Regions from separate parts of the Homo sapiens genome. Here region 2 is linked to region 1. The links are contacts of gene promoters, found by promoter capture Hi-C in blood cells and fetal thymus (Javierre and others, 2016). All regions are on one chromosome and are shown on one strand. Each heading gives the region's core, a stretch centred on a gene start or on the middle of the fragment in contact. The rest is flanking DNA. Distances are from core to core; before and after follow the strand shown.

Region 1 (6,527 bases), core at 1,115-3,614:
CCCGCCACCCGCCCAGTTAATTCTTTTGTATTTTTAGTAGAGACGGGGTTTCATCGTGTTAGCAAGGATGGTCTCAGTCTCCTGACCTCATGATCCGCCCGCCTTGGCCTCCCTAAGTGCTGGGATTACAAGCGTGAGCCACCTCGCCCGGCCTTGTATTTCCCATTTCTTTACACAGAATATTAAAATGAGGTTTATTTGAAGGTCATGATTTAATAAAATTAACTATTTTATTTCTTCAACAAGGACACTGTTAAGTAATACTGGCTTTAAAAAATACAGGTACTTTGTAATGAAGGACACAAGGACTTTCACAGTTTGGTGCTACTGCCTTAGACCAAGGTATCAGCAGTTTTACTCTCCATTGCCTCTGTACCATTAGTACAAGCATCTTAGTATCATTATGAAAATAGTTCTGACTTCATGGACCCAAGGATCAAGGATCAGCAGGGTTCTGTGGACTGCAGTTTGAAAACCACTGTTAGACCCCGAAGAGCATCTGTGATGATCAAATCTCAGAATAACAAAATAGGATGGAAAGTTGTGATATGTGTACGTGCGCTCTTCAGCCCCAGAGAATCCCTAGTTTTCATCAGATTATTAAAAAGATCAGTGAGCCAAGGATTAACATAACTTAGGCTTAGAAATCAACCAAAACTCTACTGTTAAGGCACTACTCTGATTTCCACCACAAAATATATTTCTGCTCTGAAAACATTCTATAACATAGAGAGAAAATGACCCACAAGGTCCATAGCAGTGATTTAGGAAGCTCCATATAAGCTTAGAGCATTCAGAGGGGATCCAAGCACACTTTAAACATGGTCTCTTGCCATTATGGTATCGATAAGGCTTAAGTATGATTATTAAAGATAAATGTAAGTGGAAAGGAAACTTGACTTTTTATGATGTTTTACGTAACACTTTTCCTCCATAGCACACATCAAATTGTAATTACACAGTTATTTGTGTGAATATTTATTTATTTATTTTTGAGACAGAGTCTCGCTCTGTCACCCAGGTTGAAGTGCAGTGGTGTTATCTGGGCTCACTACAACCTCAGCCTCCTGGGTTCAAGTGATTCTCCTGCCTCAGCCTCCCGAGTAGCTAGGACTACAGGAGTGCCACACCACACCTGGCTCATTTTTGTATTTTTAGTAGAGATGGGTTTTCGCCATGTTGGCCAGGCTGGTCTCAAACTCCTGACCTCAGGTGATCTGCCCCTCTCGGCTTCCCAAAGTGCTGGGATTACAGGCATGAACCACGATGCCTGGCCCAAATTTAGATTCAAAGTCATGTTGTGAATAGGAAATGTACCAGATAAGCTTTCAAAGTCTTGTTCCGCTAAAATTTAAGAAAGCACATAAGTACATCCTTCTAAATGAAAATAAAGACTTGGTTAATTTGTACATTTCTAGAATCCATGAGCGTATATAAATTCACATCTTAAAGCAATGTGAAAGACCATCAATATTTTATTTTTTCTACGCAAAAGCTGCCATATATTGTAAACAATAACAATGCTATGAATGGATTTCAGTGTCACCAACCTTATTGAACCATTCAGGGCTTTTCTTTTTAGCCAATGATAATGTTGTAATAAATCCAGCTAGCATTCCCGCTGCAGCAACGGTACCAAGGAAAATTCCACCTGCCAAGAGTTTCGGGGAGGAGGGGGGATATTAAAAAAAATTAAATAAAAAGAGGTTAAAAAGATGTACAAAAGTAAGTTTAAGATACTATTCGAGTTACAATCAAAATCACTTTTGAAATTCAAGAAACCATGGCTAAGCAGCTCTTGCTAACAGTAAATGACAGCGGCTGAGAAACACGCGTGACCGCACGACCTCTGGTTCCTTGGGTCATTCCGAATTATTATTCCCGAGCGCAGAGAAAAGGTTCAGCTTCCCTTCCCCTCTCCCCTGGGACCACAGCGTGAAGTTTCTCACGGGGAGGAGAAGAGACGATGGCAATCAGAAAAGGCAAGGCTCTAGAACAATTGCAGAGGTGACGGGGAAATATGGCACGCCCGGGAGAATAGCTCGCGGGATCTGCCCCCCGCCCCGCCCAAGGGGAGACTCCACCCAGTAAGCGACCTACCCTCCCTGGGCCGCCAGACTCCGCGGGCTAAACTCAGGGGCAAGCACAAGCTAAGGGCTCTCAGAGCGGGATGTGTGTGGGAATGCCCGCTCCAGAGCAAGCCAGGGTCCGGGGTTAACTCACCCCGACGCCCGCACCTCACCACAGCACATCTTACCTTTAACCAGGAAAAGCCGGTCATTCGTGGACCCCGGAGCCTCCAGCCCAGAGGCCGGCTGCCCAGTTGCAGCGCCCGCTGTCTCCATGTTTAGGTCGCCTCTAGTGCGTCCGTCCCCAACTGGGCCCGGGTGGAAGCGAGAACCAGGCGGAGGAGAAAGGTTCCGCTACCGCCTCCTCCTGTGCAATCTGAAGAAGGGTCCGGAGTGCGGCCGCTGTCCCCAAACCCTCCTCCCGCGCCGGGGCCGGGAAGACGTGCTGTGCCCAGCCCCAGGGGCGATGCCCTCCAAGGCCGTCTCTTAGGGAGGATCTTTTGATTTCTCCAAGGAGATCATTGCTGGACTTAAGTGATTACTTTGGCTGTTTGAAAGAACGCTCAGCCCCGACTGTAGGAGGCAGTGAGGGTCGCAGATTGCGCCAAGATTCCAGGCCCCGCCTGTGAGACCCTGGAGCTCATTTTCCTGATCAAGCTTACATTGTGTCCAACGATTTGGCCAGCGCTAACACTCCACGATTCTAAAACGCAAGCCTAGGTCTTCTGTCTGTACTTTTCTAGGTAACTTCCCAACAGTGTTGAGGAATAAGTGACAGGCTTTCTCCCTGGAGGAGAGCCAGCCACCCGGTTCTGCGGTGACGGGTACCTCCGCCGCGGTGTGAGTGCTCGGCCTCCGTCGGGAAGTGGAACACTCACAGGATGACCGAATGAAAGTACCACCCCCGAAAGGAGAGCGACGCCCGCTGGAAGCGCTTGCAGAGCTGCCGGCAACGTTGACCGCTAGCAAGCTTGGTCTTCCGCTGGGAGGCTGGTTTGCCCATTCTGTAAATGGCCGTGGAGAGGAGGAGGCTAGTGGTGATAGAAAATCTTTTCAGCCTCTCAGAGAACAATGACATCTTGTAAAATAAGGCGGTCTCTCTGCTATTTGTCCTGCCCCCCATCACCGGAGGGCATGAGTTTCCTGAGGATGGAGATGGGACTCTATGTTCAGTTTATATCCCCCAGCTTTCAGATATTAACTGGTTACCAACATCAAATGCATGTTGGATGAATGAGTAAATGAATGCATCCATTTTTGCGTCAGTGAAGTGCAGTTAATAGCTCAAACCTGGGCTCGGGTCCTAAACCGCTTCTCAGGTGTGTGAACTTGGGGTAACTTAGCCCCTCTATAGCTCAGTTTCCTCACCTGTAAAATTTAAAAACTGGTAGTAGGCCAGGCGCGGTGGTTCACGCCTGTAATCCCAGCACTTTGGGAGGCTGAGGCAGGTGGAGATCAGAAGTTCGAGATCAGCCTGGCCAACATGGTGAAACCCCGTTTCTACTAAAAATACAAAAATTAGCGGAGTCTAATGATGCGGGACTGTAATCCCAGCTACTCGGGAGGCTGAGGCAGGAGAATGGCTTGAACCTGGGAGGGAGAGGTTGCAGTGAGCCGAGATCGAGCCGTTGCACTCCAGCCTGGATGACAAGAGTGAAACTCTGCCATCCACCCCATCCCGCCCCCCCCACACACAAAAACTGATAGTACCTAACTCATAGGATTACTGTGAGAATTAAATGAAGCAACATCTATAAAGAAGTTAGCACAGTGCCTGGCACATATAAATATTCAATACATGTTAGCTCTAACTATTACCACCTTTGATTCCAGTAGCTATTTTGCAGCATTGCCTATGGGGATTTTTAAAAATGATGGATTATCAAGGTCTATCTACCACGGGAGATTAGAGCTCTGAAGGCCCGCGGGTGGCAGGGCAGAATGTAAAAGCTCCGTGGGGTTTCTGATGATAAAAAACTACTGCTCTGTTCAAATTTTTGTGTGGATGAGATCACACAGAATGTATGTGACCTTTGGATTTCCTGGAAACACGTCAGTATCTGAAAGGGCTTTTAAGCTGGTAAATGCTGTGCTAATTTGTTGAAGGACCTATCCTTTTTCCTTCCCCTCATACATAACAGTAACCATAGCTGCTAACATGTATTGAGTGCTTTCTATATATCTGACATTGCACTAAGTGCTTCAAGTACATTATCTCATTTATTCCTCTCCATAAACTCAGAAAGACTAACTTGCTCAAGCTCACACAGCTGTTAAGTGGCAGAGACAGGGCTTAAAAGCAGGTCCTTCCTTATCCACTGTGCCAGTCGTCCTCAAGTGTGAACTTGAATATTGGAATCACCTGGAAGGCTTATTGCACTCAGCTTGCTGGGCCCCATTCCCAGAGTCTGTGACTCAGTGGGGGCTGAGAACGTGTATGTCTAAGTTCCCAGGTGATGCTGTTGCCACGGATTCCACTTCGAGAACATCTTCTGTGTGCCTTCCTCTTATGGATTACACCTCTTAAAATCCACACCATACACTTTAGCACTTGGAAATCTGTTTTCCCAAGACTGCTTAGGGAGAAAAAGTGCAGATTCCTCCACTCTCTTCTTTGCTGTCCCCTTAGAAAACGACAGAAACATTTTAAGGATTAAGCTGGGCACAGTGGCTCAAACCTGTAATCCTAGTGCTTTGGGAGGTCGAGGCAGGCAGATCACTTGAGGTCAGGAGTTTGAGACCAGCCTGGCTAACATGGCGAAACCCCATCTCTACTAAAAATATAAAAATTAGCTGGGTGTGGTGGCGGCGCCTGTAATTTCAGCTACTTGGGAGGCTGAGGCAGGAGAATCGCTTCAACCCAGGAGGCAGAGGTTGCAGTGAGCCAAGATCATGCCACTGCACTCCAGCCTGGGTGACAGAGCAAGACTCCGTCTCAAGATGATGATGATGATGATGATAATAATAATAATAATAATTTAAGGTTTATATCACTGCTTACTATAAGGAACAGAAGGGAGATAATAGATCTTGTAATCTAGGGAAATTACAGAGTCCTGCATTCCAGAGCTGGTCTCCATTGAAAGTAACTGCACATCCTAGGAAACTGGTGTCTGCTTTGTTTTGGATGTTGCAGCTCACAAACCTCTATCTTCTTTCTAAATCCCCAAAGTAAAAGGCAATCTTCCTTTTTTCTACTTGAAAGCTTGTTTTCCCAATATACACAGGACTGAAAAGGCAATTGACACAAACCAATGGTTTACACTTCAGCCTCAAAATTTGCATTTTGAGGATCTTTGTGGGATACATACCAAGGAGAGGAGGAGGTGCGAGCTCCTTGGTCAAGGCCTGTTTGTGGAGACTACTACAGCCCCATTTCTCACTAGCCCCCAGCACCTGCCCTGTGACTTGCTTGGTGCCAGATCCTGGGAGATGGTGTTTCCAGAGCCTCAGAAGCCTGCCACACACTGGGACGGGAAGTCCCTGGCCCTGGGATAAGACCAAATTCCAGGCATCCCAAGTTGGAATGCTGAAAGAAAGCATTTTTTAAAGACAATGTTTCCCAAGGTCTCATATCTCTACAGGACACCCAGTTGGGTACTTTGGGTACAATTTGATTAATTGCACTGCTCTAAGAATTCCACAATTCCACCTAGACTTGTTACTAGAGGAAGATATGACACAAGCTCCAAACAGGTGAGTTGTAGACATTCTAAGCACAGTTTCTTTGCAAGATGGGGACTTGAGCAGGGAAGCATTTCCAAGTGTGGAAACCAGAGATTAGAAAGTCACAGAGCTTTGTTGCTTCACGCAGCACCAGCAGGACTGATATTTCAATGGAAGCACAGTACTCTTCTAGAAAAAGTAATGGAAATCTCTTACAAGCCAAGGAGGCTGCTGGGAAAGCAGGTTTATCTGAGACGGATGCTGTTGCTATTTCGGTATTTGTTTTAGTCAGCTGAAAGTTCATACCAGGGACACATTTGACCACATTCTTATTTCAAACGTTTTGGCTCCTGTAGATTCTATTTCAAATGTTGACAGCTAGAAACTTGTTAGCTTTACCGTTCCTGGAATTTGGATGGCCCTAGCTCTAGCTTGTTTTGAACTCTGATGGACTCTTTTCCCCGTCACTTTTTAAAACATTTCTTCAGAGCTTCAATCTCTCCATGTTTAATGTATGAGGCTGAATTATTTTTAAAATCTGATAAGGGTCAAATCATCCTTCCTGCTGCTTGATATAAGATAGTTGTCAAAAATATAGGCCATGTGTGGTGGCTCATGCCTGTAATCCCAGCACTCTGGGAGGCTGAGGCAGGCAGATCACCTGAGGTCAGGAATTTGAGACCAGCCTGACCAACATGGTGAAACCCCATCTCTACTAAAAATACAAAAATTAGCTGGCTGTGGTGGCAGGCACCTGTAATCCCAGCTACTCAGGAGGCTGAGGCATGAGAA
Region 2 (6,527 bases), core at 2,203-4,702, 230 kb after region 1:
TCCCCTATCTTCGGTCATCACCCAATAAACTTTCTTGTAGTACGCAGAACCAATCACTTTACTAAGAGTAAAGCTTATCTTTTGTTATTTCCTAAATTAATCCTTGAAAGAGTCTCTCGAGGAAATTTCTAGAAAGCACAGCACAGCAACTTCCTGACCCTAGGAAAGCCTGGATTTGTCAGGGACACAGTTCCACCCCATCCTAGACAGAGCATCCCCTGGGAAGACTTCCACAACCACAGGAAGTTTTGACCCACTGATTTGACTTGCTGGGCTTTTCCCGCATCAAAGATATCTTAATTCTGTATTTAAGAGTAGAAACATTTTAATTGGAATTTTAACAACACTAATGGATTTTTGTTGGAGAAGATGCTTTCTGAGGAAAAGACTAAGTCAATTTAAGACCATAATTTTCTCTATCGCACAAATTATTTCCAATTGTTTTCATTTAGATTGTTATTTCACTAAAATTCTTTTTATTGGAGTCATTTCTTCTCTGCATAAAATTTATAACTAAGATTTTTCACCAATCAGTATTATGAAAGCTGCCATTATGAATTTTTTATAGAACTATTATTTCTACTAAGAAAAATTTTTTTTGTGATTTGATTTTTTACCATATGCAATTTTGGGGGTCTTTTTGTTGGGTTTTTTTAAGGCAGTATTAATTTCATTTTCTGTTGTCAATATTCACCATAAAATGGCTTTAAAATTTGATGGTTTCATTGATTTGGTTTCATTGATTTTTGCCTAATGAGTAGTCTACTGGCTGTGGTTGATCTGTGATTGAATCTTCATACACTGCGCAGTCGCTTTGTGTACTGTATACTAGTTGTCCATACTGTTGAATATACACCCCTCCCCAAAAAAAAAAAATCTGGCAGGGTCAACATAGCAGGCATTAAAGGTGGCTAATTTGATTGCTTTTTGCCAGTTTTCTTTTCAGAAGGTGAGATTTTCTGAACATTTCCCCCAATTCATATTTGCATCTTTTTACTCACCTCCAATATCACCACAATTCATGCTTTGTGTCGTTTTTATTTGCAGTGGCCCTTTCAGCCTCTCACGCACTCTGACTAGGCCATGGAGGTCCATGCAGAATGGATTGCACCTGCCGGTGTGGGGGTCCTTGCTGCCTCTCCCATCCTCCCTCCGTGCTGCTTTCCGCCCTGTTCTTGTTTTTGTTGTTGTTGTTGTTGTTTGTTTGTTTGTTTGTTTGTTTTGAGACTGAATTTTGCTCCTGTTGCCCAGGCTGGAGTGCAATGGCGCGATCTCAGCTCACCGCAACCTCTGCCTCCCGGGTTCAAGCAATTCTCCTGCCTCAGCCTCCCGAGTAGCTGGGATTACAGGCATGCGCCACTATTCCCGGCTAATTTTGTATTTTTAGTAAAGATGGGGTTTCTCTGTGTTGGTCAGGCTGGTCTCGAACTCCCAGCCTCAGATGATCTGCCCGCCTGGGCCTCCCAAAGTGCTGGGATTACAGGCTTGAGCCACTGCAGCCAGCCTCTGGCCTGTTCTTGACCGTCACTGTGATGCCGCCTCAGTAGCCTTTGGGCTTCCTCCTTCACTACCAGCTTAAGCACTTACCTGTGACCATGAAATGAAATATTCCTCGTGCTTTTACCATGTGTCTGTGTGATGGGTCTGCTGGGCCCTGATGAACAGGCCAGACAGTGTTCATGGCTGTTGTTGATGAAGCGTCTCTCCCCGTGTAGGATGTGGCCGCGGCATTTGCCCACCATCTGTATCCTGTTATACCTGTGAGGATGCCAGTGCTTGGGAGGAAAGGGGTTTGCCAGAGGTCACTTGGCCAGAGCTGGGAGTCCAACACCTGCCTATCTGATATCACAGCGTGTGCTCTTACCCGCTGCACAGTGCTGCCCACCTCCTGCTGCCTGAGGAGCCAGGCCCTGAGGAAGCCATGCTTGGCTCCCTGGAGCAGTGGCACTTCCCCTTCCCATGGACCACATCCTCTCTCCCCGGTACAGCCTCGAGCTTCGAAACAGAAAGCCGAGCCTAGTATGCCGCGGCCGGCGGGCTTGGTTCTCAAATCCTGGGCTCCAGTGGGTGTAGCAGGAAGAACTTCGGGGAATTTCCAGACAATCTAACTCCCCTCTTGGAGCTTCTTGAAGATTCAGGGGCCTTTTTCTAGTGGGACGCTCACTGATGTCTAGATGTTCCGTGATGTTTGAGGCAAGGGAGAGTGGGGGAGTCCCATCGTGCCGGACATACCTTCTGGAAGAGACAAAGGCTTCTAAAAAGGTACATCCTAGAAAAAAATGTAGCTTCCTTGTCTGGGGGAAGTGCCAGAACCATCTAGAGTGCATGGATGCCAGGAAGTGGGGCAGTGAGACTCCTGCACAAGGTCAGGGTGGCAGCTCGGGATGTCGAGATTCCGATGTCCCTTTAACAAGAAACCCCAGCCTGGGAGAACTGGAAACCAGATGTCACAACTCAAAATTATGGTATTTGGGGAAATACCACAAGATTTTGAAGGGTCTGATTCTAAGGGAAGGAGGGAGCCAGAGATGTTTTTCCACAGGATTTGGAAGGATGTGTGGTTTTCATCCAGGACATTCAAGGAAGCCAGTGTTATTTATTCTTCCTATGGAAATCCAAACTTGTGGGAATGTACCATGTGTTGGAATTGAAGCCATTGTCTGATGCAAACATATTTCCGTGATTTTGAAGTTGGCGACATTACTATACACTGATTGGCATGGGGACTTAGGAGGACAGCTCCAGAAAGCTGTCTTGTAGCTCCTGTCTCCTGGTGGACGTCCTTCACAGAATTGTCTTCTTGGTCCTCTAGAGAGCTTTGTGGGTGGAAAGTGGCATTTTCCTCCTTACAGGAAGAGAAATTGAGAGAAGGGGGTTATTTCACTTGATGAGATCACACTTTGGTGCTCAGCCTGCACTGAGCCTAGGAGTGTGAATTCCTAAGTTCACATAGGCATTCTAGAGAGACCACAGCATCACATAGTCATTCTAGCTAGCGACCGCAGCATCACACAGACACTCTAGAGAGACCACAGCATCACAAGACACGCTAGAGAGACCACAGTGTCACACAGGCATTCTAGAGAGACCACAGCGTCACACAGGCATTCTAGAGAGACCACAGTGTCACACAGACATTCTAGAGAGACTGCAGTGTCACACAGGCATTCTAGAGAGACCACAGTGTCACACACACGCTCTAGAGAGACCACGGCATCACACAGGCACTCTAGAGAGACCACAGCGTCACACAGGCACTCTAGAGAGACCACAGCGTCACACAGGCACTCCAGAGAGACCACAGTGTCACACAGACACTCTAGAGAGAACACGGTGTCACACAGACACTCTAGAGAGAACATGGTGTCACACAGACACTCTAGAGAGACCATGGTGTCACATAGGGATTCTAGCGACCACAGTGTTTCCCCTCCTGAATGTCCCTCTTTGTGTAGTTTGTGTACCTGTGTAAAGATGTGAAATCTCCTCTGTAGAATTGATGAACTCCTCCCTAAAGCCAGGATACCACTTCCTTTCAGGTAAGGGGAAGTCTATCTTTCTCTTACTGCACCAATGTCACTTTCTTTAGAGTTTGTGTTGAGCTGGCACGATGATGGCGTACAGCAATGTTGACATGCTCTGCTAAAACACAGAATATACTGTGATTATAATCAGTTCTTATATACAGGGCCATGGAAGGGGAAGGATGATGGCATAACCAGGGTGAGGAGAAGGTCATCCTGAGGGCAAGGAACACAGAGGTTGTGGTGTAGTGGGGAGTAAAGGACCAAGTGGCATGAAGAGGATGGAAAACTTGGGACCACATGCATGGTTCAAGAATACAGTCAAAGCATGGAGAGAGTGGTCTGGAGCATGTTAGTGAAAATTCCAGGCCCACCCCTACCCAGCCAAGGGCATCAAGAGAGGTGATGACTTGTGGGTCTGTCCATCTCTCACAACAGCTTTCCGTGTCCCCTCCCTTCCTCCTGGGGTGCTGGCCACTGCAGGGCTCTGAGTCATGGGACATTCCAGCTTAAAGGGACCTCAGCAGTCATGGAGGTCACCCTGGACAACTCCTTTGGTTTACAGATGAGTAAACTGAGGCTCAGAGACAGGTGTAACTCCACCCACTGACAACAGAGCCAATCAGTGACAGGCCTGGGACCCTGGCATGGGGTCTGGTTCCAAGTCCAGGTATATATAGCCCTCCTTTAACTTCCTGGCTCCTGAAACAGAATATCTAAATCTTTGCTACTCAAACTGAGGCCCATGGAAGAGTAATGTCAGCATCGCCTGGGAGTTATTAGAAATGCAGACTCTTGGGCCCTGACTCACCTGGTAAATCAGAATCTGCATTGCAACAAGACCACAGGTGAGTCACCTGAATGTGAGAAGCACAGCCCTGGGGCCTTTCCACGTCCCTCCTGTGACCTTCCTCTACAGCATAGCCTCTGCTTCCTCTCCACTGCAACTCCCAGGACTGTCGTATTTTCAGGAGTTTTGCTAGCTACAAGTTCCTCTACTTTGAGCGTTCTGTTTAATCACCTCCCTCCCTGCAGTGCCTGTGAGATAAATAGCGTCTTATTCCTTATTATTACATATTTAAAATAGCCATATGAACTTAGTCTATGACTTTGAGAAGTGTGTTGACTTCTTGGGGCCTTAGTTTCAGTGTCTGTAAAATAGACCCACTGAGTGCAAAGAGCCATTCCAGCGTTATCATTCCATGATTCTAGAAATAAATCCCTCTTTCTCCTTTGCTTGGTTGTGAAAATCTGGGAACCTAAATACTTTAGAGGATTATTTCGACGGTTCCACTGCTTAAACAGAAGAAATGACGTCTTCTGTTAATTTTAAAATGCAAAGCTCCGTGCACACCCATGTAAATTCAACAAGCAAACTGTAGGTACTGCAAAATAAGATATTTCAATGACTCACTGGAATATTACTATCATTAGTAGTGTAACTGGCGTATTTGGGAGGATAAAGCAAGATGATGGAACGGTAGCTCTTTTGAGTGAGTGAGGGAGTGAGTCAGTCAGTCAGTTGGGTTTTAGAAGGAAGCCAGAGATGAAACCCTTCATGCAGAGTCGGCAGGGCAGGGCAGGCGGCACATTGGGCACAATAATCTCTGGAACAGCCCTCTGCAGTGGATGTGCTGGGCGTGAGGAGGAGGGGAGGCCAGATGGGCTTTTCAGGAGAAAAACCCCCCTGGAGGATGTTAATCAGGGGAGTGGGCAGCTCTTTGTGCTTGGGAAGTGGGAGGCATTTTTATTCCAAGTGTGGAGGTAACATGAAAGGCAGCTCAGGAACAAAAGGAAGCAAAGGACTCAATGAGGACGGAGGAAATGGACCAAGGCAAGGAGGTGTGGCGGGACCTGTTTGGGAGGAGACTGACCTGGGAAGACTGAGCAGGTGCAACGGCATGGAAAAGAGTCCCAGCCATGCTGAGCCCAGGAGGGGACTTAGAGAGCAGAGGCTGCTGCCTCAGAAGCCAGGCCTTCCCTGCAGAGCCTCTCAGGGACAGCTTGTTTCCTAGCGGCCCCAGGAGCCTTCTACACCCTGCCTTATAATACACATCTGCAAGTTTTTGGTGGCTGGAGTTGTGACTGGGAATCTGATCTAACCTAGAGCCATCTGCCAAACTACACACTCAGACTGTCCCTGATTACCTCTCACACCTCATTGTTAAAATTATTCAGGACATTTGTTAAAACATGAAGGCAGACTGTATTCAGGGAGACCATGCAGGGTCATAGGGACCAGTGCAGTGGGGTTTGCAGTAGGGAAGAGGCATTGGGCTCCGCTCCAAATACAGCAAGGAACAGTGGGAATTTACAGCCAAGGAGCAGAGTTGGGAGCAGTGGATGGAAGACTACTAAAAGGAAGCCTCAGGGCTGAGGGGGCTTCTGGCTAAACCAACCTAACCAGATTCCAGGCGAAGGCAGGCCAGGGTGGTCAGAGATTCCCTGGGGGATGGTGGGGGATGAGGAGCCCCATTGAGTAGCAAAGGGGATCAGATATTGAGGGTGAGGGTTCTGGCTAACTCGACTCAGCAGGACTTTTGCTAAAATTGAGCATTGCAGAAACAGACATAGAAGCCCCCAAATCAGGGCCTCGCTGGGAAGAGCACTCAGAGATGCCTGACTAGAGTTTGGCAAGGATGGGATCTTCCTTATCACGGATGCCTTCAGGTCATCCACATGTTCACACACTCTGTGAAAATAGGACTTTGCTGAGGTGTCCTCTTTGGGGTCCACATGCACATCTGTGATATTACTGAGACTCTGCCATAATAATCACCCTCCGAACCCCTGTCATGATCAAACCAACTCACCCTTTGCCTTCCCGGTGACCTTTCTCACTTCTTTACTTTAGACTCGTATGCTGGGGGGTGGGAGAGGGCTGGGGGGAAATACAGCCTGCTCTGGGGGAGCTGTATCTCCCTTCCCTCTGTGCCCTGGAAAACTTACATGTAAGGATGGGAGATACATTAACTGTTTATTTTGTGTTTCTGGTAGATAAGT

The links. The method cuts DNA at HindIII sites, captures the fragments that hold promoters and counts their contacts. A CHiCAGO score of 5 or more calls a contact.
Region 2: a contact is called between a fragment that was not itself captured here and the fragment with the promoter of TMEM242 in region 1, in 1 of 17 cell types (total B cells). The highest score is 5.1, in total B cells.

What each region holds. Positions count from the first base shown.
Region 1 is chr6:157,321,155-157,327,681 of GRCh38, forward strand. It overlaps TMEM242 (transmembrane protein 242), which reads right to left and starts at 2,365. Exons shown (of 4, transcript NM_018452.6): 1 at 2,258-2,365; 2 at 1,551-1,651. The coding sequence starts at 2,345. TMEM242-DT (TMEM242 divergent transcript) reads left to right here and starts at 2,480. Exons shown (of 1, transcript NR_187268.1): 1 at 2,480-3,323. It overlaps LOC105378076 (a long non-coding RNA gene), which reads left to right and starts at 5,077. Exons shown (of 3, transcript XR_943165.2): 1 at 5,077-5,765. RefSeq lists enhancers at 2,128-2,467, 2,648-3,077. The HindIII fragment of the contact is 1,401 bases long and covers 1,324-2,724 here.
Region 2 is chr6:157,547,241-157,553,767 of GRCh38, forward strand. All of the region lies in intron 2 of ZDHHC14 (zDHHC palmitoyltransferase 14), which reads left to right. Among named protein-coding and RNA genes, the nearest start is that of MIR3692, 21 kb to the left of the region's middle. RefSeq lists a silencer at 2,923-3,123 and an enhancer at 4,981-5,803. The HindIII fragment of the contact is 6,763 bases long and covers 72-6,527 here.